Linked DNA regions of Homo sapiens: regions 1, 2 and 3 are each linked to region 4. Evidence: promoter capture Hi-C in human tissues and cell types (Jung and others, 2019). All regions are on one chromosome and are shown on one strand. The core of a region is centred on a gene start or on the middle of the fragment in contact, and the rest is flanking DNA. Distances in the headings are between cores, read along the strand shown.

Evidence for each region. The method cuts DNA at HindIII sites, captures the fragments that hold promoters and counts their contacts. A contact is called where the count stands out against the background at its distance.
Region 1: a contact is called between a fragment that was not itself captured here and the fragment with the promoter of DYNC1I1 in region 4, in 1 of the 25 tissues and cell types used here (heart left ventricle).
Region 2: a fragment that was not itself captured here is called in contact with the fragment with the promoter of DYNC1I1 in region 4 in 1 of the 25 tissues and cell types used here (adrenal gland).
Region 3: a fragment that was not itself captured here is called in contact with the fragment with the promoter of DYNC1I1 in region 4 in 3 of the 25 tissues and cell types used here (H1 embryonic stem cells, mesendoderm cells and thymus).

Annotation. Positions count from the first base shown.
Region 1 is chr7:95,731,177-95,733,941 of GRCh38, reverse strand. No RefSeq gene overlaps it. Among named protein-coding and RNA genes, the nearest start is that of DYNC1I1, 40 kb to the left of the region's middle. The HindIII fragment of the contact is 4,831 bases long and covers 1-2,765 here.
Region 2 is chr7:95,709,757-95,712,696 of GRCh38, reverse strand. The region is part of intron 2 of LOC105375409 (a long non-coding RNA gene); the gene reads right to left. Among named protein-coding and RNA genes, the nearest start is that of DYNC1I1, 61 kb to the left of the region's middle. The HindIII fragment of the contact is 4,908 bases long and covers 1-2,940 here.
Region 3 is chr7:95,811,117-95,814,184 of GRCh38, reverse strand. It overlaps DYNC1I1 (dynein cytoplasmic 1 intermediate chain 1), which reads right to left. Exons shown (of 17, transcript NM_001135556.2): 4 at 848-938. Among named protein-coding and RNA genes, the nearest start is that of DYNC1I1, 40 kb to the right of the region's middle. The HindIII fragment of the contact is 5,109 bases long and covers 1-3,068 here.
Region 4 is chr7:95,770,956-95,774,111 of GRCh38, reverse strand. It overlaps DYNC1I1 (dynein cytoplasmic 1 intermediate chain 1), which reads right to left and starts at 1,558. Exons shown (of 17, transcript NM_001135556.2): 1 at 1,339-1,558. The HindIII fragment of the contact is 6,379 bases long and covers 1-3,156 here.

The DNA.
Region 1 (2,765 bases), core at 12-2,511, 40 kb after region 4:
TATATACATTGTGAAATGACTAAATCTAGCTAATTAACATATATGCATTATGTTACATAGTTATTATTTTTGTGGTGAGAACACTTTACATCCACTCTCAGCATTTTTCAAGAATGCAATATATTATTAACTATAGTCACTATGTTGTACAATAAAGCTCTTGAATTTATTCCTCCTATCTAACTAAAATTTTGTGTCCTTTGACTAATTCCTTGTTCCCACCCCACCCCAAGTCTGATAATTCTAACATCTGTGTCATAGCTGAGTCTGGTTCTAATGAATGCCTGTCACTGCCACTGTGATTTTTTCTTGCCTTTTGTCATGCCTTATAATTTTCTTTGGAAAGCTAGACATGTTGTATTGGGTTATAGGATCTGGAGTAAACTGACCTTCAGTGTGTGGATTTGGGATTTGTGTTCATCTGGCTAGGAGCTGAGCTATGTTTAATGCTTGCTGTAACTATAGGTGCCAGAGCCTTTGAGTTCCTTTAGTTTCCTTGTTTTTGTATTCCCTTTGCACTTTGGGCTTCCCAAAGTACTCTTCCTCAGAAAGTCTGTGTCTTGTAGCTCCTAACAATTGCCGTCTGCTGTTATTCTACCTCAGCCCTGTTGGTAGGGTGGTAACGTGTAGGGAGGGGAAGCCTTCTATAATCTTATGATTAAATCTCAGTCTTTTAGTGGATGTATGTCTCAAAGCTATGACTTTCACAAGTACTTCTCTAGTGGTAAGGCTTCTTTTTTCCCTCTGCTCCTTACTTCCTTCTCTGGCTATGATGTTCTAGTTTATTTCCCTGAAGCCCAGCCCCCTTAGGTAAGGCAAGAAGGCTGAAGGAAGAATGCCCTTTTCTTAGATGGGATGAGGCTCTGGCAAATTCCCTCCCCTGCAGAGAACTATCTTGTGATGGAGAAGCATGTGAGGATAATTCACAACGAAGAGAATCTTTCCTGGATCTTTGCTATGAGAACCTGATGAAGTTCTGGAGGTAAAACCAATGACAGTGTAGGACACCCCCTAAGACTTTGGCCCCCAAGAGATTTTCACTATTACACTAGTCCACACTCAGCCTCTAGCAATGAGTCAAAATTATCATTTAAGTGTTTCTGACTTTAACGGCCTCTGCTTCACCTAAGCAGATCTCAGCTGTGACTCCCCAGATACACTTGTCTCTCCAGATGTTGGGGTGGCAGTTTGCCACCCATGGTCTTCACTCTAGATGGGTCCAGGAAAAGTGAATGATTTCCAGTGTGTCCGATTTTTTTCTTGAGTTAAGAATGGGGGGCCGGGCGCGGTGGCTCACGCCTGTAATCCCAGCACTTTGGGAGGCCGAGGCGGGTGGATCATGAGGTCAGGAGATCGAGACCATCCTGGCTAACAAGGTGAAACCCCGTCTCTACTAAAAATACAAAAAATTAGCCGGGCGCGGTGGCGGGCGCCTGTAGTCCCAGCTACTCGGGAGGCTGAGGCAGGAGAATGGCGTGAACCCGGGAAGCGGAGCTTGCAGTGAGCCGAGATTGCGCCACTGCAGTCCGCAGTCCGACCTGGGCGACAGAGCGAGACTCCGTCTCAAAAAAAAAAAAAAAAAAAAAGAATGGGAGTGACAACCTCCACGCTCTTTACTTGGTATAGCTAAACCAGAAGTCTCAAAAAGTTATGACAAAAACCTGCAAAATCAACCTCAATGCGCAAGAAAGGAAATAAGAAAAATAAGGGCAGAAATTAGTGAAGTAGACAATGAGTCTCTGACAACTAAAATCAACAAAAAAGGTGGTTTGTTGAAAATTGATAACATCTAATAAGACTAATCAATAAAAGGGAGAAGGCACAAATATAAGAGTATCAGAGCTGGAAAAGGTGGCGTCACTGGAGATTTTCAAGGCAATATAACAGTAAATAAGACTATATCAACATATTAGAAACAATTTTATGCCAATACATATGAACATATAGAAGATATGACCATACTTTTATTAAATACGACTTAACAAAATGGACAGGAGAAATAGATATCTAAACAGACCTACATGGTTAAATATTTACAATTTCTATAATGCAAACTAAATATTAAAGAAACTAAATCACTAATATAAAACCTTCCCCACAAAGAAAACTCCAAACTCTGACAGATATCTAAACAAATTCTGTTTTTAAAAAACAAATAATAAATAGCTTCAATATTTTATAAGTTTTTTCAGTGACATGCAATTAGAGGAGGAAGAATGCATGTCAGATATTGGGCAGCCAGTGGCACGGACAGGATTGACATTTGACAGTCATCTTTGGTTGCCCAGCAAACAGATCCCATTTATATTGTTAAAACCAAACAAGACCGGGCACAGTGGCTCATGCCTGTAATCCCAGCACTTTGGAAGGCTGAAGTGGAAGGATTGCTTAAACCTGGAGTTTGAGACCAGCCTAGGCAACAAAGAGAAACTCAAAAAATAGAAAATAATTAGCTCGGCATGGTGGCACGTACCTATGGTGCCAGCTACTCAGGAGGCTGAGGTGAGGGGATCACTTGAGCCCTGGAGTTTAAGGCTGCAGTGAGCTGTGTTTGCACCACTGCACTCCAGCCTAGGCAACAGAATGAGACCCTCATCTCTAAAAAAATTTAAAAATTTAAATAATAAATAAATAAAAACAAAACGCCACAGCACATGAGTGTTTGTGAGAAGCAGAAATTTAATCCCACTATGAAAATTTAAAGGACACCAGATGTTCTCCTCCTTAACTGGGATTTTGAATGTGGAAGAAGAAACCTGAAAACA
Region 2 (2,940 bases), core at 55-2,554, 61 kb after region 4:
ATTACTGATGTGAGTCACCATGTCCAACCCTGTCTTTGTATTTAAATTGGGAAACTTTTAGAGAACGTATGATTGGGTCTTATTTGTTTGTTTGTTTTGTCCACTCCAACAATTTTTGACTTTTAATTGGTTTATTTAAACCACATTTAAAGTGATGAGCTATATAGTTGTATTAATATCCACTGTGTTTGTAACTACTGTCTGTTCATTACATTTGTTCTTTGTTTCTTTTTTATTTTCCTCTTTTTCTGTTCCCATTCATCCCTTAAAAAATTGCTGTCATTCATTTCATGTATCCATATACTATAGTCACACAGTAATTGTTACTATTTTCAGTTTAAACAGTTATTTATTTGATTAATTTATTTACAATAGCTATTTATTTGATCAATTCATTTATTTCTTCTTCAATGCTCTTTCTTTCTTCATGTAGATTAAAGTTTTTTTCCTATATCATTTTCCTTCTCTCTGAACTACTTTTTAAAAACATTTCTTGCAGGGAAAGTCTGCTGTTGATTAATTTCCCCAGTTTTTATTTGTATGAGAATGTTTTTATTTCTCTTTCACTTTTGAAAGATAATTTTGCCAGATATAATGGTATATTAGTGAAGATTTTTCTTTCAACACTTTAAATATTTCACTCCACTTTCTTCTTGCTTGCATAGTTTCTGATGGGAAGTCTGATGTAATTTTCATCATTGTTTCTTTTTAGGTAAGTTGTATTTTCCTTCTCTGGCTTTCTTCAAGATCTTCTCCTTGTCTTTGGTTTCCTGTAGTTTTAACATGATATTCCTAGGTAAAGATTTTTGGTATTTATACTGTTTTGTGTTCTTTGAACTTCCTGAATCTGTGATTTGATGCCTGACACTAATTTTGGAAAATTCTCAGTCATTATTACTTCAAATATTTATTCTGCTTGGTTCTTATTTTCTTTTCCTTCTGGTATTCCAGTTATGCATGTATCATGCCTTTTGAAGTTGTCTCACATTTCTTGGATGAGTTGTTCTGGTTTTTTTTTAATTATTGTTATTTTTTCTCTTTGCCTTTCTGCTTGGGAAGTTGTATTGGCATATCTTCAAGTTCACTGATTCTTTTCTTGGCCATATCCAGTCTACTGGTGAGCTCATAACAGGCATTCTGTATTTCTGTTGCAGTGTTTTTTAAATTTATTTATTGCATTTCCATTTGATTCTTTTTTAGATTACCTGTCTCTGCTTATATTATCTATTTACTCTTAAATTTTGTCTTTCTTCCATTAGATTCATTCATATATTAATCATAGTGATATTAAATTCTCTGATAATTCTAAATTCTGTGACATATCTGAGTCCGGTCTTATGCTTACTTTGTTTCTTCAGATTATGTTTGTTTCTGGCCATTAAGCATTACTTGCAAGTTAAAAAAAAATCCAGACAAGATGTATCAATTAATAGGAACTAAGGTAAAAAGGCCTTTGTTATGAGAGTTTATGCTAATCTGGCTAGGTGTTGGCTATGTTTAATGTTTCCTGTACATGGTTTCAATTTCCTTTAGAGTCCTTTTTGTGTTGTTGTTCTTTTTCCATTGTTGTCTTTGGGTTTCCATTTAAAGCTTCTTCAGCTGTGATCCACTGTTATAGTGGAATCCCATTGATGTGGTAGTGAAGTGTGGAAGGAAGAAACACATTCTATAATCCTATGATTAAATTTCAGTCTTTAATGAACCTGTGTCTCTGGGCTATAACCCATTTTCCTCCCTCACATGAGACAAGAGGGCTAGAGAGGACTGGAGTTGGGTAATTTCCTCCAAGCTGAATAGGCTCTAATAAAGTCTTTTCCCCTGGTGAATAAGACTTTGTTATGGAGAATGCTCTGGGCATATCTCAAAATGGTTACATTTTCCCTCCCACTTCTAGAAATGTGAGAGCTCTTTCTTGGCTTATCACTGTGAGAAACTGATGGGATTCCTGGAAACAAAACCTATGAAAATGTGGAGGATCCCCAATACTCTGTCACCCCCCAAAATCCATCACTCTCATGCTAATCTACATTCTGCCTTCAGCAATTCATCAAAGTTACCATATAAGTGTTCTTATCAGTTTGCAGCTCAAGTAGTTCCTGTTCTAGGTAAATTCATCTCATCTGTGATTCTCTGCATTCACCTGTCTCTCCAGATGTTGGTGTGGCAGTATGCCCTACAAAGAGGTTCTCTGATGGATTCAATAAAAATCAGTGGTTTTCAATTTATTCACTTATTTTGTTCTTGTAAGGGGAGTAGTGGTAACTTCTAAGTTCTCTACATATTGGAGTTGAAACCAGAAATTTTTATTTTATTTTATATATCCTATAAACTCGCATTGCTACTATATTTGTTTATAGATGAATAACAATCTTTTAGAGCAATTAAAATAAAATTAAAGATATCTTTTATATTTATCCTTATTTTATACATTAATGGAGTTGTTCACTTCTTTGTGTAAACCCAGTTTTCTGCTAGCTAACATATTCCTTCTGCCTGAAGATTTTCTTCATCATTTTTTTTTAGATGGATTCTTACTCTGTCATCAGGCTGCAGTGCAGGGGCACAATCTCAGCTCACTGCAACCTCTGCCTCCCGGGTTCAAGCAATTCTCCTGCCTCAGCCTCCCGAGTAGCTGGGACTACAGGCACCCACCACCACACCTGGCTAATTTTTGTATTTTTAGTAGAGACGGGATTTCACCATGTTGGCCAGGATGGTCTCAATCTCTTGACCTTGTGATCCACCCGCCTCGGCCTCCCAAAGTGCAGGTGTGAGCCACGTGCCCGGCGATTTTCTTCATCATTTCTCATCATGCTGTGCCGCTGTTAATAAATTCCCTCAATTTTTGTTTTGCTGAAATAAAAGGTCATCATTTCTCATTCATTTTTGAGATTTTTGCTGGGCTTAGGATTTTTAAATTGACAGGTATGTTTCTTTCTC
Region 3 (3,068 bases), core at 84-2,583, 40 kb before region 4:
ATCATATCATGTGAGCTCAACCAGCTTGAGCTATGAGGGGGCCATCTGGCCTTTAAGAATTGGGTGCAGTTGCCATACTCACATAAATTCCTGCCTGTGGACCCCGGCATGTGGGAACACTGGTGAAGACAGCTGGATTCGGAGATTTACCATGACTCCATCTACATTTATGAAACTTCTCCTTTCTTCTTTTTACATCTTTACCTTTTGGATACCTCTTCAGTGATTAAATTACAGAATGTCTAGATCTACTTTCAGAAGTTACATAATCTGTGAGTCTACATAGTGTAATACAAATTTGGCAATGAACTCACTAAACAGAAGCAGCCAATCCTGATACTACTACTACCAATAATAATACAATAAAAATACTTAGGTGACTGAGTTTTCAAATTAGTCAACTTTACTAAGCAAATAACTCACTTGAAAAATTAAATTTAGAATTAGAACATCTCAATATTCTATTCACAAAGACTTTCATGGAAACCAAAACCAAAGTAGGATAATAAGAAGCTGGATATATATTCAATTATCTACTAAATAATGAAAAGGCTTCTCCCTGCCTTTTTTAAGCCTAAGCTAATGGATATGTGTGTGTTTGTTAAGCAAGACACATGGTGCTAAATTAGCCCACTCAAAGAAGGATGATATATGTTGATCATTTCTAGTGTTCAAGATCATTGCTATTCCACTAAAAATAGCAAGCCACCATAAATTTAAACATAAGATGTCCAAGTACACATGCAGATACATGCACATTTCACAGTATTCTAACAGTGGTGTTGTTGCTGTTTTTTTTTTTTTTTAATTGACACCCATCATGGCCTTTTAAAGGGACAATTCTTACCTTGTTAATGGCCCCAGATCGCCTGAGTCTTGGCTTCCAGCTTCACTGGGAGTGCTCACTGATTTCGAGGAGGGAGACATAGGGGTTGGGACTAAATAATGAAAATAACAGGTATCCCATGTTAAAAAATGCAGCGGCTGCACTGGTGAAGAGCAGTGTCAGACAAATCAAAACAAATGGGCCCAAATTAAAGTGGTTGTATGGCCAGGAGACATTGAGATGGGATAAAGAAAAAAAAAAAAAAGGAAAGAAAAGGAAAAAAGTCCAGTGAATTTTTTGTATTTTGGAAATTAAAATTTGAAATGATTTAGACAGAATTAACCTAGGGATTCTGAGGCCATGTCCACCCTAACAAAGTAAAATGAAGCATCAAAATAGCTATCCAGATAATTCAAGTCAAATATCTCTCTAACATGAACCATCCAGATAATTCTGATTCTTCACATTATTTTGTTAGTATAGATGTGACCTATTAAAAATAAAACAAGGTGTCTATAAAACTTTAAAAGGTTATTAAATAAGTGATTCTGAATAATTTTAAATGGTCAAGGACAGTCAGAAAAATCTGTTGTATGTCTGCATTGAGAGAGAAATGTACTCTGTGGAATATAAGCTGTTTGCCATGAGAGCCTAAGTGACAGATAGAGAAAGGGTAAATGTTGAAACTGGTAATTAAAAAGTCTCTTTCAAAACAAAGAAAAATGCCAGGCTGCTTTATTTTTACATTTAATTAATAGTTGCATCCCATTGTACTGTTTACTGTCTTTGGGACTTGTTTTGCCTTGCCTCCAGCAGCTCTAGAAGACCCTGCCATGTGCACAGAAGTAAGCTGCCACTCTGAAGACAGGAGACAAGTTCAAAGATCAAGGTCGGCACAAGCTGAAAATCTGAGAGCAGGCATAATAAAAGAAAAAAGCTAAAGCCAATGCAATTTTTTCCCCCTTCCTTCAGATACAAGCCAAATGTCCTTCAGATAGAAGCTGCACCAAATAGCCAAGATGGCTCCAGGCCAGGCAATTCAACGGGTTCTCAATATCACATATGCCAGAGAAGCCATATGGATAGAAAGAAATTTCAGTACGTAAATGTAGATTCCCATTTGGTTTCAATCATGTGCAATTTCCTTTTATTTACTTAATAGGGTAAAGGGCTTAACTGTTTTACCCAAATCCTATAACACAATGGCAGATCTGTCGAGAAGCTAGGAATTTTCATGTGGTCCCACAATTAATTCACTGATTACTTACCCTCTGAGTAAGCTCAGAGGGTAAGTCGAAGAGATGGCTGAAAAATGAAAACAGGGCCCTTGCCAGAGTCCGTTGGCAGTAATGCAAGGATACTTCAAAAGTTGGTCATGGTTTAGAGATGTTAATCTGTTTTGTTCTTAAAGTTTAATTACTGGCTTTATGTAGGGTAGGGGAGACTAGGACATACTATTATTGTATTTAACCAGTGTTCACATTGCAACATAATTTCAAAGGCTATTTTGAGGCACAAATATAATTGATTGCAATGTGTCTAACTCATATCAGATGTCAACTAAGTAGAAAAAAATGTGTATCAGCTCCTAAGTAGAAAAGAAGGTCCATCAGTCAAATATAACGTCCCCTAGGTTACATCTTCCACAACATGAAGAAATTAAACCAAAGAATCTAATCTTATTGGGGCTTATTATAGCATTGTTGAACATACTATTTTTACCTATTACAAATTGAGATTGAGTATAAAATGATTTTTAATAGTGTTTTAGTTTTGTGTGTATTAAATTACATCCAGCAATACTTAATAATTTTTAAGCTTATTATATATTGTTCTTTTTCTTATTCACATTGATATAAACATTTGCCATTTTGTTCTACATGGGATAATTTATATTCTTAGTTTAACTAACTATGGAAATAAATGATAATTTATTTTAATATAAAAGTAAATTATGGAATTAACTTCAGAAGAAAGTATTCTAAACAAAAGATCTGAATACTGTATTTATTTTTATGTATTCTTCCAAAAGGGTTTTTAACTATATTGGATATAATGTAGTTTTATAGACACCCTAGGATTAATCTTAAATGTATGGAAAACAAAAGGATAAAAGAAAAATAAAACTATTACATGAGAGATACATAGGTAAGTGACAGAATAAACAAAATATGCACAAGTTACCTTCAACACAAAGAAAACCAATAATTCAATATCCAAGCTTTAGTGATAAAATGAGGTC
Region 4 (3,156 bases), core at 309-2,808:
TTAGTTCTTATGAAGAGAACATGTGGTAACTCAGTGGCAGGTGTTTCAGATTTTATTTTATTGAGAAATATGATCAAAAGAGCTGAGTTAGGACCCCTTTTTCCACACCAAACCTTTTTGAACAAACTTGGCATTTTAAATAATTAGAGGTAGTATTACATTCTCACCAGTACCCTCAGCTTGCAAATTGCACTGAATATTCCCTTTTCAAATTTACTAACACTGATCAACGTATATCTCTATAATTTCCACAATTAAAGTATGTACACAGACTGGTTACCCATGTCTGTGTTAACATCAGGCGTTGGGTTGTCACCTGCAGTTGCCTATGCCTTACTGTTAGCTATACTTTTTGCTAATCTGGAATATTTGGAAGCAATTCTTCACAACTCTGAACTACAATAAGTCTACAATGCCCACTTGAAAGGCATTCCAAGCAAGAAAATGGCTGGCTACTTGTTCCTGCCCCTTACCTAGGATTAGTAGAGGCCAGAATAGCGAATATATTCCATCTTCTGCATGTTGTTGAGTCTCTGATCTCCTATGTAATTTCCTGTCCTGATCCTGGGCTTCTGTTTAATCTTATTAGCCAAGGTACAAGTCATGAGACTCCCGCACACTCAGTTCCCATCAGCGCTGCCAGGATCACTGCCCTTATGATGACGACGCACGGATTTATAAGGCCAGAGCGATTCCGAATGGGAGCGGGGGAAGGAGAGCCAGGCGGCCGTGAAGGTGTTTACCAAAACAACATCCCCCAGCCACACTTTTTCGCAGCAGAGAGAAACTGGCATCTTCTCGCTTTGAAGTGTTTAATTAATGCCCTGCTGGAAGTGAATTCGCTCCCTCCGACTTGCAGGGTAGTGACAGCATCTAAGAGCTTTGCAGACAGCTCGAAATGTAATCAAACAGCATCCTTTCCCCTCCCTCTGCAGCTTTCCCCCTCCTCCAGGGGCAGTCAGCCGGTGGCCCAGAGGGGTGCAGATTTCAGCGCCGCTCGCCCACTGCTCCCCCGGGGAAGACCGAGGCGGGGCGCACTGGGACGCCCTTCCCAGCCCACAAGGTGGGCGACCAGGTGGTGACACCACGACCCTTCCTTCTCTGCCCTAGTCTCTCGGCTCTGCCGAGAGGGGGGTGTCACTGGGGGGCTTTGGCCGCCTTCGGGCTCAGCGGAGCACGCAGGAGCCTGGGCAGGGGGCCAGGACAAGGGTCCGGCTGCGGCTGCAGGGGCCTCGGCTCCAGCCTGGTTCCCAGCGCAGACGACACCGGGGTGGGGAGGGTTGGGGAGAGGTGCGGAGGCGGCCGTCCGGGGAGCGGCGACATCCCGCTCCAGTTTACCTGGACGCGCTCGGCAGCGGCGGAACTGGGCTCCCCGAGCCGGCGGCGGCTCCTGGGCGGCGGCAGCGTTGGTGCAGGCGGCTCCCGAAGGTGGCGGGGCCGGCGCGGGCAGGATGTGCTGTCTCACGCTGCGCCGGCCGCTCGGCTCGCGCTCCTCCGGGAGCGATCACTTCCTCTCTCCCAGAGCCTGACACTGACAGCTCCCCGGAGCACTCAGTCTGCGGGGCTCGCCCCGCCCCCTGCCCACGCCCTCCACGCCCGCGCCCCTCCTGAGGGAGGGCCTCCGCTCCGCGTCTTCCGCGCCCGGTCTCGCCAGGAGGGGGTGGCGCCGCTCCGTAGGCTGGTGGCGAGCAGAGGACCTGGAAAGGTCAATTCGTCTATCCCTCTAACGTCGGTAGGACTTAGACCTCAGTTGCTGCAAAGAGAAGAGCTTCAATATTCTGGGAGCTCCTGCTGAAATGCCACCATTGAACAACTTTCACTCCCAGGCAACTACACTTCTTAAGGTCATTTAAATAGAAATAAAGCTCAGATCTACCTGTTGTACACAATGACTTATAGGTCTGATTGATCCCAATTTTTCTAGAAGAAAAAAGAATTAAGTGTGTGTGTCTGTGTGTGTGTGTGTGTGTGTGTGTGTGTGTGTGGTGTGGTGTGTGTGTAGCTTGTCTTCACATTGCTTCTTAAAGTCCCAGCTTTTAAAAATCTGGGTAACTGGCCAGACGCGGTGGCTCACGCCTGTAATCCAAGCACTTTGGGAGGCCGAGGAGGGCGGATCACCTGAGGTCGAGAGTTGGGGGACCAGCCTGACCAACATGAAAAAACCCCGTCTCTACTAAAAATACAAAATTAGCCGGGCGTGGTGGTGCATGCCAGTAATCCCAGCTACTCGGGAGGCTAAGGCAGGAGAATGGTTGAACCCGGGAGGCGGAGGTTGTGGTGAACCGAGATCCCGCCACTGCACTCAAAGCCTGGGCAACAAGAGCGAAACTCCGTCTCGGGGAAACAAAAAAAAATCTGGGTAACTATTATTGGACTCTGCAAAAAACAAGCTTGCCACAACAGCTAAGTTATAAGGCCAAAAAATTGAGTTTGGGATGTTAGGGGGTTTGGTATCATTTTATAGATGAGCTTTTCATCATATTTCTTGCACATCTGTGGTGTATTTTTACACATTAGAATGTAAATTAGTGGAGGGCAGGGACGCTATCTTGTTCACTGCTGTATTCTTAGTATCTAGAACAGCATTCTGATATATAATGGGTACTCAGTAAATATTTATGAACTTATTAATTCACAAGTACTACAGTAATTTCAAAATAAATACAGATTCTAGTATGAATACAGTATGAATACATACTCATCTGTAAATGGCCATCCTTATTCTAAAACTTTGGCCTCCCTGGCTAATCTACTGCGATTGTAACTATGGCTAGAAATGAAGAGGTTAAATGTCTAGGTAGAAGGTATTCAAGGTATTCCAGAAGGAAAAATCTAGGAAATAAATATTTGCCACTACCGTGACTGAATATTTAATACATGTCAATTCTACATACATTTTTCTTTAACTTTTCTATAACATTATGTAGTACATATAACGAATGCCATGCCTCCAGAAAAGGAACTTGAGTCAAAGAAGTTAACTCCCTTGCCCAAGTTCCATAACCACTGAGTGATCTAGCTGAGATTTGAATTCCCATTCATCTGCAGCTTGTACTTTAACTACTTTGTATTTTGGTCTTTCCAACATGGCATTGCTTTTGTTGTTGTTGTTGTTTTGTTTGTTTGTTTGTTTGTTTTTTGAGACAGAGTCTCCCT